Regions from separate parts of the Homo sapiens genome. Here region 2 is linked to region 1. The links are contacts of gene promoters, found by promoter capture Hi-C in human tissues and cell types (Jung and others, 2019). All regions are on one chromosome and are shown on one strand. Each heading gives the region's core, a stretch centred on a gene start or on the middle of the fragment in contact. The rest is flanking DNA. Distances are from core to core; before and after follow the strand shown. Region 1 holds the start of GRHPR (glyoxylate and hydroxypyruvate reductase). Region 2 holds the start of LOC105376030 (a long non-coding RNA gene).

Region 1 (7,238 bases), core at 2,934-5,433:
GAGGGGACACGGAAGGTTAATGGGTCCCCTCCCCCAAAGCAATGCACACAGCTGGGGCTCAATAAGTGCTACTGGGTGGTAGGAACAGAGCCAGCTGAGGGCACAGGAAGAGGGATCTGCTAAGCAGAGGAGGCCTGACCTGGGCTTCATTGGGTAAAACCAGTCATCATAATAAGTAGCTGGCATTTCGGGAGCTCTTAGTTAGTTCCAGACACTGCCCTGAGCACTGGACATGGTCACTCACTAACGTTTCCATGTTTCAGTATCTGTGGGGTGCATATGTTGCTCTCCCCAGTCTACAGACAGGAAGCTGCAGGCAAGAAAGATGAAGTCATTTGCTTAAGTCACACCATTACCAAGAGGCCGAGCTTGGATTCACACCCAGCACCCTGGCTCCAGACCCAAGCTCTCAACCACAATACAAGCCTGTGGAGTGGGAGGGGTGAAATACATGAGTGAGGGGTGACTTCTAGGTATTGGCTTGGGGTGGCTGTCCCTTTGATGGATATGTGGGAGGAGCGCAGGTGTCAGGTGAGGTATTGGGGAGAAGGTGGATGAATTGGGTTTGGCAGGTGTTGAGTTCCAGATACCTGAGGATGCTCAGGTGGAGGAGGCAGGAGAGAGGCGGCTTATGGCTCTGAAGCTGGGTGATGGGGGCTGGAGCTGCTCACTCCAGAGTCATCAGCGTAGAAGCGCAGCCTGGGAGACACCTGAGCGATGAAGGGGCAAGGCCACAGCTAAGGCAGGGGAATTGATATTTAGTGTGCAAGGATTCAAAATGACAGCAAGAAAAGAAGTGTTTTAGAGACTATTACTATTATTATTATTGAGACAGAGTCTTACTCTGTTGCCCAGGCTGGAGTGCAGGGGTGCAATCATAGCTTACTGTAACCTTGAACTCCTGGGCTGAAGTGATACTCCGGCCTCCGCCTTCCGGGACTCAGCCACCACAACCAGCTAACTTTTAAATTTTTCTGTAAAGACAGGGTGGGGGAGCCTCCCTATATTGCCCATGCTGGTCTTGAACTCCTGACCTCAAGCAGTCCTCCAGCTTTAGCCTCCCAAAGTGCTGGGATTACAGGAATCAGCCACCAAACCTGGCCAAATGCTATTTTTATTTATTTTATTTTATTTATTTATTTTTGAGACGGAGTTTTTTTGTTTGTTTGTCTTTTGTTTTCTTTTGAGACAGAGTCTCGCTCTGTCGCCCAGGCTGGAGTAAAGTGGCGTGATCTTGGCTCACTGCAACCTCCACCCCCTGGGTTCAAGCAATTTCCTGCCTCAGCCTCCTGAGTAGTTTGGATTATGGGCACCTGCCACCAAGCCTGGCTAATTTTTTTGTATTTTTAGTAGAGACGGGGCTTTACCATGTTGGCCAGGCTGGTCTCGAACTCCTAAGCTCAGGTGATCCACCCGCCTCAGCCTCCCAAAGTGCTGGGATTACAGGCGTGAGCCACCGCGCCTGGCCAAGTGCTATTTTTAAATGAATGTTTTCTTTATTTTGAGGGTAGATAATAAATGCACAAGATGCAAATTCCCAAAGGGTGAAAATTGTGTCTCTCTTACTCTGTCCCAGTTCACCAGGTCTTCTCCCCAGAGGCAGCCACTGTCCCCAGTTTCTTCTTTTTTCTTTTTCTTTTTTTTTTTTTTTTTTTGTTAGAGACAGGGTCTCACTCACTCTGTTGCCCAGGCTGGAGTGCAGTGGCACAATCACAGTTCACTGCAGCCCCAGCCTCCCAGGCTCAAGCAATCTTCCTACTTCAGTTTCCCAAGTAACTGGGACTACAGGTGTACACCACTACGCCTGGGTAATTAAAAAAAAATTTTTTTTTGTAGAGACAGGGTCTCGCTATGTTGCCCAGGCTTGTCTCAAACTCCTGGGCTCAAGCAATGCTCCTGACTCAGCCTCCCAAAGTGCTGGAATTACAAACCATGAGCCACTGCACCTGGCCTGTTCCCAAAGAAACAAGAAAGATGTTTCTTGTACATCTTTCCAGGGATATTTAACACACAGAAATAGGTGGCCAGGTGTCGTGGCTCACGCCTGTAATCCCAGAACTTTGGAAGTGGATCGCTTTGAGCCCAGGTGTTCGAGACAAGCCCGGTCAACATAATGAAACCCTGTCTCTACAAAAAATACAAAACATTAGCTGGGTGTGGTGGCACATGCCTGTGGTCCCAGCTGCTCAGGAGGCTGAGGCGGGAGGATCATTGGAGCACAGGAGGTAGAGGTTGCAGTGAGCCAAGATTGCACCATTGCCCTCCAGCCTAGATAACAGACTGAGATCCTGTCTCAAAAAAAAAAAAAAAAAAAAAAAAAAAAGAATAGGCATATACTTTCTCCTATAAATGGTAACATATGCACTTTGCATCACCCTGTTTTCTCACTGGACAGTACATCTTGGAGATCATTCCACACTGGTACGCACAGAGCTGCCTCACTCTTTTGATTGATGCAGAGTATTTCACTGTGGGAATGAAGCATACGTAATGAACAGTCCCCTATGAGTGGACCTTTAGGTTGTTTCCCATATTTTACTATTCCAACAATGCCACAATGAAGAGCCTTTGGCAGATGGCATTTTGCACATGTGTGAACGCGTCTGTAAGGTAAATTCCTAAAAGCAAAATTTCTGGGTCAAAAAAGATGTGCAGTCTAAACTTTGATAGCTACTGCCAAACTTTCTTATTGAAGTTGCTGATTTACACTCCTACCAGCAACGTATGAAAGCACCTGGTTCCCCAATGTATTATTTTTTACATTGGTATCTTGCTGTAATTTTAATATGCAGTTCTTTTGTGAGTCAAGTTGAGCACTTTTCATCTTTTGTTTTTTTTTTTTGTTTGTTTTGTTTTTTTTTGTTTTAGATGGAGTCTCACTCTGTCACCCAGGCTGGAGTGTAGTGATGGGATCTCGGCTCACTGCAACCTCCATCTCCTGGACTCATGAGCAATTCTCCTGCCTCAGCCTCCTGAGTAGCTGGAATTACAGGCATGTGCCACCATGCCCACCTAATGTTTGTATATTCAGTACAGACAGAGTTTCACCATGTTGGCCAGGCTGGTCTCAAACTTCTGACCTCAAGTGATCCGCCTGCCTCGGCCTCCGAAAGTGCTGGGATTACAGGCATGAGCCACCGCGCCCAGCCATACATTTAAAGGCCATTTTCTTTTCTATAAACTGTCCATTGATATCCTTTGCTTATTCAGATAAGCTGGGCATCTTTGTCTTAGGAACTATTTGTGCAATAAGTAAATCAACCCCTTGTCTATAAAATGAGTTGCAAATATATGGTATTTTTCCCGGTTTGTTGTCTTATGATTTTGTTAATTTTTTTTTTTTAAGATAAACATAAGCCTGGTATTTCCAGGCACCTGGTATTTCCAGGCAGTCTCCCATACAAGCCCTAACCAGGCTTAGTTTCCAAGATCAGATGCATTCAGGATGGTACGGTTAATTTTTCAATGGAGAATTAGTTGTACTCTTATGGCTTCTGGCTTTCGCACACATAGCGTATCACTTATTTATTGCTGCATAAAGAATTACTCCAAAATTGAACGGCTTAGAGCAACAGCAGTCAGTGCATTATCATCTCTTATGGTTCCGGGGTTGACTGGGCTCAGCCAGTGATTCTCCTAAAGGCTCTTTCTTGCAGTTTTAGCTGTAGTCAGGTGGGAGTTGGCCTGGAGTCACCCGAAGGCTTCCTCACTCATACCTCTGGTCATTGACGGTGGCTGTGAGCCGGGCCCCTGGCTGTGCTGTTGGCCTGAACACCTACACGTGACCTCTCTGTGTGTCCTGGACTTCCTCACAGCCTGGAACCTGGGTTTCTACCCTGGGCCAACCCAAGAGACAGAAAAAGTGGGGGCTTTCAGTCTCTTAAGGCCTGAGCCTGTGGAAACAGGACCCTGAGCGTGTAGAAAAAGCAGGGCTCCCATGAGGCCTTGGACGGGATACTGCCCCCTCTCCCCCGGGGCCCTGATTCCCCAGTGGCACGAGGCGCACCCCCCCACACACACACAAGGACACTGTGTAGGGTCACTGTTACTGTCACTCCCCGAGCACGCACAGTCACCGCTCAGCCGCAACCCGGCGCTCCCTCTCGCGAAGCCACACCCCCTGCGCACGCCGCGCGCGACGTCTCTCCCGCCCACTCCAGCCTGGCCCCGCCCCGGCCCAGCTACATTCCCGGGCCAGCTTCTGTACTGCCAGGTCCGGGTCGGCGGCTGCACTGCGGATGAGACCGGTGCGACTCATGAAGGTGTTCGTCACCCGCAGGATACCCGCCGAGGGTAGGGTCGCGCTCGCCCGGGCGGCAGAGTAAGAGCCTCGCGCGCCGTGGAGGAGGGAGCAGGGCGGTCCCAGGGACCGGAGAGCCGGGCGGGGCGTTTGGGCCTTGTGGCCGGCTGGGGCAGGCTTGGAGTTTTGGGGAGTCTCGGAGAAAGTTCTCTGGGGCCCAGTTCTCCTCTTAAGACGACGCTGGGACCTGCAGTTCCGGCTTTGGAGAGGGGAGATTGCCCCTGAGGCAAGGTCCAGGCTAATTCTCCACGCTCCCACAGGACATGTGGGGTCAGGGACATGGCGGTCACTGACCAGGCCCTTGGACGTTTGGCAGGGGGCTTTGATGACTCTTCTTCTTTATATTTACTTATCTTTTTTTTTTTTTTTTTGAGACAGTCTCACTCTGCTGCACAGGCTGGAGTGCAGTGGCTCGATCGATCGTGGCTTACTGCAGCCTCGACTTCTTGGGCCCAATCAGTTCTCCCACCTGAGCCTCCCGAGTAGCTGGGACTACAGGCGCAAACAATCACTACCGGCTAATTTTCTGATTTTTTTTTTGTAGAGATGGGGGTCTCACTCTGTTGCTCAGGCTGGTCTCAAATTCCTGGGCTCAAGCAATCCTCTTGCCTCAGCCTCCCAAAGTGTTGGGATTACAGGTGTTAGTCACCATGACTGGCCTGAGGACCCTTTAATTTTTAAGACAGGGTCTCACTCTCATCCAGGCTGGAGTGCAGTGGCACCATTATACCTCACTGCAGCCTCAACCTCCTGGACTCAAGAGATACTTCCACCTCAGCCTCCCAAGTAGCTGGGACTACTACAGGCATGCACTACCATGCCTGGCTAATTTTTTATTTTTTTCAAAGACGAGGGTCTCACTGTGTTGCCCAGGCTGGTCCTGAACTCCTGTACGAAGGGATCCTCCCACCTCAGCCTCCCAAAGTGCTGGGATTACAGGCATGAACCACTGCACCTGGCCCACCCTTGCTAAATGGAACCCTTTTTGTGGGCCAACCTTGCCAGGTGCTTCATATACATAAACTTTTAATCCTGGTAGCACTGTGAAGTCAGTATTATAATTCCCATTGCACAGATTAAAAACTGGAGGCTGGACTTAGGGTTAAGTTTCTTCCCAAAGCCATGCAGCTCCCAGGTGGAGGAGCTGGGGCTTGTACTCAGAAGTGTCTGACTGCTGTCTGATCACTGCATTTGATCAGGTTTGTGTTTCCAATGTTAGATAGGAAGAGGATGCAATCCAGCCTCAGCAGCCAGTTCTAGGGGCATATGAGATTTTCAAATTTTGTTCACTGCAACAAAACCTTTGCCAAGGACCCACTTTGTACTGAGCAGGAGAAGGTGGAAGGCAGCAACCGCGCCCATGGTAACAGTAGCTCACGCTGTACCCTGCTCATGGGGAGGTGGATGAAAGGTGGTCAGTGCCCTGGGCTCAGTCAGGAGGTGCAAGTAGCTATCCTGTGTCCTGCCACATAGAGGCTCCACACGTGCTGACTGTACTGAATTCCATGGCAAGGGCCAGGAGGCACCGTGCATCACTGGGACAAATATCTGGTTGCTGTGAGCTGCCGTGGAAGCGTTGGGTGGCCTTGACCTTATCTTTCCTGGCCCAGTCCAACTATGAGAGTTTTCTATTTCATGGACTCCACGGACAGGAAGAGATGCAACAGGCCATTGAATCCAGGCCCCCCACCTGAGGCACACCCTGCCCCCCACGGGCCTTCCCTGCAGTTGGCCGCCTGCTTGGCCGCCCAGCCCCTGTGAATGTGGGAAAGCTCTTCTCTGTGCTGACCTGAGAGCTGTCCCCATGCCTTCCCCCTTGCAGCTTAGGCTCTGCTGGGGGGCCCCTCAGCCCTTCACCTGTCACCTGCTGTCTCGGGACAGTTCTGAGACCACCCCTGCCTGACCCTGCCTCCCCTCAGCCAGCCCCGGGCAGCCTGAGGCCAGGGCCATCAGAGGCCAGGATTCCCAGCTGGGAGGGGCGGGGACAGGTGTGCGGCTCCTGCTTCTCCTGAGGGCCTCCCTTTCCCCGCAGCTGTGAGGTGGAGCAGTGGGACTCGGATGAGCCCATCCCTGCCAAGGAGCTAGAGCGAGGTGTGGCGGGGGCCCACGGCCTGCTCTGCCTCCTCTCCGACCACGTGGACAAGAGGATCCTGGATGCTGCAGGTGCACACTGGGTGGGCAGGGGACTTGAGGGTGGCTTGGCCCTGTGGGCCCCTCAGCCTGTGCTGCTGGCTCCTGGCTGCTCTGCAGTGCTGTCTGGGTTCTGAGGGCGTTTCCTGCGATACCAGGCCCGAGCGGGCAGATAGCTTGCTCTGGCACAGGCACTGCCCCTCCCTCCTGCTGTGAACCCCTTGGCGGGGGACCCTAGGAGGGCAAAGACCGCGGTGTGGAGACTGTGGGTGTGGGGAAGTGCATCCAAGGCCCTGGGTTCTCCAGCCCTGCCACAACCTTGCTCTGTGACCTCCAGCAAGACCCTGCCCCTTCTGGGCGTGTGCGTAGTATGAGGGAGGACCTAGCTCAGTGCCAAGCCCCAGCAGGATGTCTTTCCTCAACCGCAGCCACGGGTCTCAGCCCATGGAAGAATAAACCTCCCCCTGTGAGGCTGTTGTGACAGTTTTGAGAAAAGGTTCAGACTCAGAGGCTGCCAGATGGGAAGGGACCCTTGTGAGTCAGTGCTGAGCCGCCCCACATCCTGGCCTTGGCCTGGAAGCTTTGTGGTGTCCTGCTTGCAGGAGAGGGTAGAGAGGGTCACGTCCCAGCCACCTTCTTGGCACTCTCAGAGGTGTCCATGGGGGAGGCCCCAGCGTGGCTAAAGAAGACCGGAGGCCTCGCTGGGTGGACAGTCCAGTGGGTAAGAGCGGGGCCTTGGTGGCAGAGGCCCTGAGGTGAACCCGGCTCTGCCTGTGACTGAGCCAGGCCACTTAACCTCCCTGAACTG
Region 2 (7,238 bases), core at 2,199-4,698, 640 kb before region 1:
TGTCACACTGCCACTCTCCTTGTGACCAGCTCAGATCCCCTGCCTGTGCGAATGTGTGTGTTGCTCAGGAGGGGAGGTGGGGAGGTGAGGATAGGGGGCTGACTTCCAGACTATTTCAGTGTGGCTTTTAGATCTCAGCCAATTCTGTGAAGTGACCGTGCAGCCAAACTAATCACCCTTCCTTGGGCCAGGTTAATGTGCTCCTCTCTTGCTGCTTGGATCAATACCGTACTTACTGCAGATTAGCTAAATGAGCCAGTGCAGCTGGGAATGAGCTTCTAGAGACAATTACTATGGAAAATGCAGCCATATTTTAGTGGGCACCACATGCATGAGGCTCTTTGCAAATATCAATATATATTTGCTTGCTTGACAGAAATAGATCAAACCTAAGTCCGGAGATTAATCCAGATGATCAGAGTGTACATGCTTCTTGTTGTGCATAGTGTGGCGGAACCTTGACCTTTTCCATGGTTGCTATTGTTCGGATTGTGCTGGAAGTAACCCAAAATGGGCTGGTGGTTGGCCCATGCGATTGTCTGCAAGTTTATTGCAGGTACAAATAGTAATGAGGCTGCTTATGGTGATAATCGTTTATCTCACTTGATCTTCACCACAACCTTGAAATGCTCACTAAATGTTTATTTAATAAATTCATTCATTCCCTTAACAAATAATGACTGAGTAGCCTTTATGTACAGGGCCTTGTTCTAGGTGCTGGAGAAACAGTAGTGAAGAAGACAGGGCCTTTTTCAGTGGAACTTGCAGCCTGGTGGGACAAGAGTGACAATAAACAAGGAAGCCATGCGCATGGAGAAGTAATCACGCATTGAGGCAAGTGCTGCAAAGGAAGACGGTGCCGTGTAAAGAAAATATATAGGGTGGTGGTGCTTAATTTCAATAGGGGGGTTGGAGAAGTCTTCTCCGAGGGGGTGACATTGAGGTTGAGATTTGATGGATGAGAAGGAGCGAGCTAGGACAAGAGAAGAAGAGAGACAGTGTTCTCAGTGGAGGGACCTTCTTGTGCAGAGGGCGTGAGCTGGAACCAGACCAGCAGTTCCAAGGAACGGAGAAGCTGCCGTGCAGGGCTGGAGTGTGATGAGCAAGGCAGGAACAGCACATCATCCGGTGAGAGAAGCAGACAGCGGCCAGGCCACACAGAGCCCTGCAGGGCACGGTAAGGACTTTGGATTTTATTTTAAGGGAGAAGGGAAGCAGTCAAAGGACTTTATACAGGGAAGGGATATGATCCAATTTACATTTTCAAAAGGTCACTCTAGGTCCTGGGTACGGAATGAGGAATATTCTATATCCATTTTGATAGCTAGTTCCAGAAAAATAACAATTATAAGTAGACAGGCTGGCAAGGTGGGGGGAGCCTTGGGTAGATCCTCCGAATGGCTCTTTGGGAGGTGAGGATCTGCCACGGCTGCGGGCTCTGGTTCTGAATGTTGTCTGATTTCACAACCCATCTCACAGTTTCTCTTTCCCGTAGGAGGGCTTGTCATTGGCAGATTCTTAGCCCAGTAAAAAGGAGAGGCAGGGGATGGAGAGGAGAGAGCTGGGGATCTTTGATGTCACCCCCACGATCCCAGCCCTGGCTGTCCTGGTGTGCTGGCTTTCATCCCAAAGAACAGCACGGAGCCCCCCCTCACTGCATGCGGGGGCCCCTCTGGCACAGTGGGGAGGTGCCCCGAAGACAGCTCCTCCTCACTCAGTCACTGGGGCGCTGGTGGCCAGGGCTCAGAGAGCAGGAGACCTGAAGATTGGGTGGCTGGTCGGCCTGGACATTTAGACTGTGCCTGGGTTCTTCCGATTGCTCCCCCACAGTCCTCCAGCCACAATCCATTTCCTGTCCTTGGGCTCAGTAACCTCCCCCTTGCTTTTCCCCCTGCAGTCTTCTTGGTTCTCACCCATACGTTCCTTACTCCTTCACACAAGCATCAGCTAAAAAAAGCCAGCAGCCTTTTGTGTACGTTTGAAAACTGGTGACCCTCCTAGGTAAAGAAGTTTGGGGTGTGGGGAATGAAAGGAGCATGATAGGAAAGATTCCCATTCCCTTCAGTCGTTGAAAAGTGTAACATTCAGGATGTGTTTAAATGTTCAAAGAGTCAGCACTAAACAACCAGGAATAGAATGTGTATCTTCCAAACTACTGGGGAAAGAGACCGGAGGAAGCATAACCCAACAGATGGCTGAGTGACTTCTAAGATAGAAGAGGCAGAGGGAGGAAAAGCAGGACAGAGAAGAAGTTGAATTCCCTTCCATAAACAGGTTGAACATTCTTCTCTGCCCGCAGGAAACCTGGGCTGTGTTCTTTCAGGTGGTGGGTGGAGGGGGAGGCATGGCCGGAATCCCCAGTGCCCGTGGGTGCCAGCCAATGACTTACACATCTGCTTTCCTCAGTTTTAAGTTCCCTGGGGGCAAGGCCAGACCTAGTTCATCTGTCTATGTCCCCAGAACAGGGAGGTTCCATTGCTGGAGAAGAATAAGAGCACATGTTGTTATTACCCAACACAAGCTCTGCCCATCTTTTCGGCTAATGCCATCTTATGAAAGGGGTGAATTCAGATCCTACTCTGAAGGCAAAGAAATGGGGCAAAGTGGACCATGAAGCTCAGAGACCCACATGAATGTGAACCACGGTTGAGACCAGCAGACAGAAAGCTCTGAGTGTCTGGGGATGGGAAGCTTTCTTATTCCACTGACTTCTCTCGCCATTTCTTCTCTTTGTCTTCCTCTGCTTCCTCCTCCCTCTTTTGACTTCAGCTGGCAGAGTTGCTTGAAATGAAGCCGTTCCCTGAAAAGCACACATGAATTTCCCCTGCGGAAAATTCAAACAGACACACTTGAGGATTTCCACTAAATTCTCTCTGGCCCCCAGAGCACTGGGGAAGCATGTGAGACCTGTGCCATCCCGGAACTGTGGCGACAATGGTAGTTAACGTCCATCATCTGCAGGCACCTTCAGGATGTGGAGCATGCAGAGATGACTCACGCCCACACCGGTGACCTCCAACACACCAGGGAAGGCAGGAAAAGGCTGTGTGCCAGGATCTTGTTCTGGGCTAGAAAAGTATGCCTGTTCGTTACCCGACCTTTGCTAAGTACACCAACTAATGGAGCGAGAGACATGAAAGATCTTCACAGGCCATGTGGAAATGTAATTCAAACCCAGCCCGAGGAGGTCATAGTACGTGAGTTTAATTTTCATCCTGCCTTTCCTTACAATGCTAACCTTTGCCTTACAAAAAAAGTTGTTTAAAAAGAGATAAGTCAGTGTCTATTTGGCATTTGAAGGAGTTTTAATCTGAGCAACCCTGTTGGAAGTGTTTCCATTTCCTTAGGATTCAGTTCAGGAAACCGTGAATTGATCCTTTACATCAGAAGTAATTGTTCTGGGTTTGAAATCTATCAAGTATTGGAAATTCAAATTAAGCCATTTGTGAAGTTCTGTTTAATGAGGGTTATCAAGTCGCTTCTTAATGGCATCTGTCGGACTCCTAGCCCCCTCTGCTATTCATACAGGCCCAAGGCCTCCCATTATATGCCCCATGATGCAGCCGGATGGGCCCCCTCTTTGATCTGGGCATCTCTGCCCTCATACGTGGTGGGCAGTCCCACCCTCCCCCACTGCTCTGGGAGCTGTTCCGTCCCAGCTCCTCCATGTCTTATCTTTCTCTTCCACTTTCTGTTTTCTCTCCTGTCCTCTCTTCCCATCATCCCATTGCTTCTGTTTTCTGTCTTCCTTCCCAGCCTCCTGCCTCTTCCTTCTTTGTCACGCATTCACCCTGTCTCTCATCAACACTAAGGCCAGCACGTGTCACCAAACTGCCTCCCATCAGAGGCCTCTGACATTCTCCAAGTCCTCCTTCAACATGTTGCATTCTGACAGTATGAGATCCTGAATTATAAACATTTACCACCCACTATTTATTAATCGCACTTTTATCTTTTGGCCTGAAACTTTGTCTCTCACCTGCTACCAGCTGCCTCCAGAGCATGGGGGTTGGGAGCTGATGGCAAGTTCCCTGTGTCTTTTCTGCAGCCCTCTGGGTTTTACATAATGTGATTTTGTGTTCTCGCACAAAATCATGGTGCTCCAGACTGAAAAATTCTACTCATCAGGAAATCTCCCTCCCCTTAGAGCGCTAGAACTGTCTTTTTGTGGGACTTGGTCAGCCCTGAGATTTCTTACAGGAGATAAAGGGCCGAATTGGAGAGATGCTTGGAGAGAAATGGTTGACAGGGCCTGGAGAGCATGTCGTGGAGGAAGACATTGACAAGGTCTCCTCCTCGTCCTCTTTCCTCCTTCCATCTCTCCCAGTCAACCCCCAAGCCTTGGTTGATGCCCAGTTCCCTAAGGTCACTCATGAACTTCTCATGTGTTTGTTGTCATTCCTCTTTCCTTTAATTCTCTCTGCTTCAAACTTGGGAGAAAGATTTTCTCTGATGAATTTTTCAAGAAACTCCCTTCAGGCTCCCTGCTGCCCTTTCCAGCCATTCTCTGCTTTTGGATCCCTGAGGACCATCCAGAGAGCCCGTGTGTCATTTTTAAGAAACTCTGTTACAAGGCAAGAAATAAAGGACATCCTCAAATGGTAGTGCACCCAGGGGAGGTGTGGAGAGGGTGGAATGACGAAGCGCCCGAGACATATGCTGTACGGCAAGGTCCACAGAGCTGGGATGCCCATGGGGTGGGGTGGGGTGGTTAGAGACGGAAAACCAAATCAAAAGAATTTAAGCAATAACCTGGCGGGGCACGGTGGCTCACACCTGTAATCCCAGCACTTTGGGAGGCCAAGGTGGGTGGATCACTTGAGGTCAGGAGTTTGAGACCCACCTGTGCAACACAGTGAGACCCAATCTGTACAAAAAATACAAAAATTAGCCAGGTGTGATGGTGGGTGCCTGTGGTCCCAGCTACTTGGGAGGCCGAGGCTGGAGGATCACTTGAGTCTGGGAAGTGGAGGATGCAGGGCCATGGTCACGCCACTGCACTCTAGCCTGAGTGAAAGAATGATAGCCTGTCTCAAAAAAATAAAAAACCAAAACCAAAATAAAACCCCTGAACCCCCAAAATGGAAGGAAAAATGAATATCTATTGACTCCATCGCTGACATTGCACCTGTGGGTTCTAGGGCTTTACCAGCACCATCAGGACACCCCAGTCTCTTGAGAGACAATATTTTCTAGTAGTCATCACTGCCTGGACTTGGAGCCTGGCCCCACCTCTTATGAACTCTGTGACCTTGGGCAAGTGACTTCACATCTTTGTGCCTCAGTTTCCTCACTTAGAAAACGAGGATAAAAGTAGCACTACCTTCTAGGGCTACTGTGACTATTAGGTGAGTGACTATTTGTAACGTTCTTAGATCAGTGTGATGCACACAGTAGGTACAAAGTGAGTGTAAGCAACTGGATGTGTTTCCTAGGCCTCCATAACAAAGTGCCATGAACTAGGGGCTTAGAACAACAGAATGTATTGTCTCATACAGTTCTGGAGCTGGAAGTCTGAAATCAAGGTGCTGGCAGGGCCACGCTCCCTCTGGAATCTGTAGAGATCCATGCTTGCCTCCTCCTGGCTTCTGGTGGTTTGCCGGAATTCTTTGGCATGCTTGACGTACAGGTGCAGCATGCAATCCTCTGTCTTTACATGGTATTTTCCTTGTGTCTCCACCCAATCTTCCTGTGTCTGTCTCTGTGTCCAAGTTTCTCTGTTTTATAAGGAAGGCAGTCATATTGGATTAGGGATTATTCTAATGACCTCATTTTAACTTGATTATGTCTATAAAGACCCAATTTCCAGGTACTGAGGATTGGGACCTCAGCATCTCTTCCTCTCTTTCTCTTTTTCTTTGTCCTCTTTCTTTACTTTTCTCTTCGTTGGCTTCATTTAATAGCAGATTTGCCCTAGGCTTTGGTAAAGACGTTCATTGCAGTTCTGGGCTTATTATAGTCTACCATCTTAGCAGCCTACCGTTTTTTCTAATAGTTTCAGTGAAAGCCCCCGACTGTCTTTTGTTGGCTCAGCTTGGATCATGTGTCCACTCTGGAGCCTGTCCCTGTGTCCATGGTGCTCCCATTGGCCAACCCTGGAGCAGGTACTGGGGTCAGTCCCACTCAAGTCATGTTGATTGTGAATGGAGTTGAGGAGGTTGCCTGGAATGAAAACTCAGGTCTTGCTTCCTGGAGAAAGGATTGCTGGCAGGCAATAGAAATAGATGAGCCCCGAAGCCTTGAAAACACGGTCACGAGTCCTGCAGGGTTGTCTTCAATTCTGTTAATGCAGTCATCTGAAATGGGATTGAATTTATTGGGGGAGATATTCAGAGAGCTAGAGAAGACCAAGGGGAAGAAGGACAACAGGCAGATTTGAGCTCAGTGTGAGGAGATACTTCTTAGGCACAGAGCAGCCAACAAAGAGAGGGCTTGTGCCTTGGGAGGTGGTCCACATCCTCTTCCTGGAGGCAGGCAAGAGTGGCCATGTAGTTTACTGAGAATGTTGTAAAGGCAATTCACACAGTGGAAAAGGAGTGGACTAAATCAATGGCTTTCAAATATTTATTACCGTGACCCACAGACATGGATTTATATTGTAAACCAACACACACACACACACACACACACACACACACAACTGAAACAAAAGTTTCGCAAAGCAATTTTACCTTTACTATAAGTGATGTACTCTGACATAGTCCTTTCTCTTCTATTTCATTTTAAAAACACTCACAGCTCAGTAAATTGATTTCCCAGCCTGGTGTTCAGAAACCTGGACTAGATGACCTCTGAGGTCCCTGCAGCTCAGTGACTCTGGGGGTCTATGACAGGTACCAGTGGGCCAAAAAGGAGGAAATGTGGTTTGGTATCACCAAATATCACCTGCACAGTTGGTGATGACACTGGACTGGAGCCAGCTCTCTGGACCCTGCAGCCCAACTTCTGATGTTCCTTCTCTGCCATCTTCGATGACTGCCCTGTCTGCCTGTAAACTAGAGTATTTGTAACCATATCAGTCCTTTGCATGGATACGTTTATGGGTTCCCCATTTGTCTGATAAAGATAAAAGGTTTGATGTCTTCATCTGCTGTCCTCACTAACCATCCCAGGAGTCCCTCCCAGTGTTTTCCAAAGCTCTGTGCCCTTTGAGCTGTCCTCCCGCAACACACTTAAATCCACACCTTTGATCCTATCCTTCCCTTGGCTTGAGTGTCCTCCCTCCATGTCCCCCTCTC

The links. Contacts are between HindIII fragments. The study calls those that stand out against the background at their distance.
Region 2: a contact is called between a fragment that was not itself captured here and the fragment with the promoter of GRHPR in region 1, in 1 of the 25 tissues and cell types used here (lymphoblastoid cells).

What each region holds. Positions count from the first base shown.
Region 1 is chr9:37,418,513-37,425,750 of GRCh38, forward strand. It overlaps GRHPR (glyoxylate and hydroxypyruvate reductase), which reads left to right and starts at 4,184. Exons shown (of 9, transcript NM_012203.2): 1 at 4,184-4,321; 2 at 6,333-6,463. The coding sequence starts at 4,239. LOC105376035 (a long non-coding RNA gene) reads left to right here. Exons shown (of 4, transcript XR_007061479.1): 4 at 1-996. RefSeq lists enhancers at 3,530-4,155, 4,156-4,781, 6,456-7,238 and a silencer at 3,996-4,145. The HindIII fragment of the contact is 13,627 bases long and covers 1-7,238 here.
Region 2 is chr9:36,778,701-36,785,938 of GRCh38, forward strand. LOC105376030 (a long non-coding RNA gene) reads left to right here and starts at 1,038. Exons shown (of 3, transcript XR_001746662.3): 1 at 1,038-1,177; 2 at 2,770-3,193. The HindIII fragment of the contact is 9,066 bases long and covers 1-7,238 here.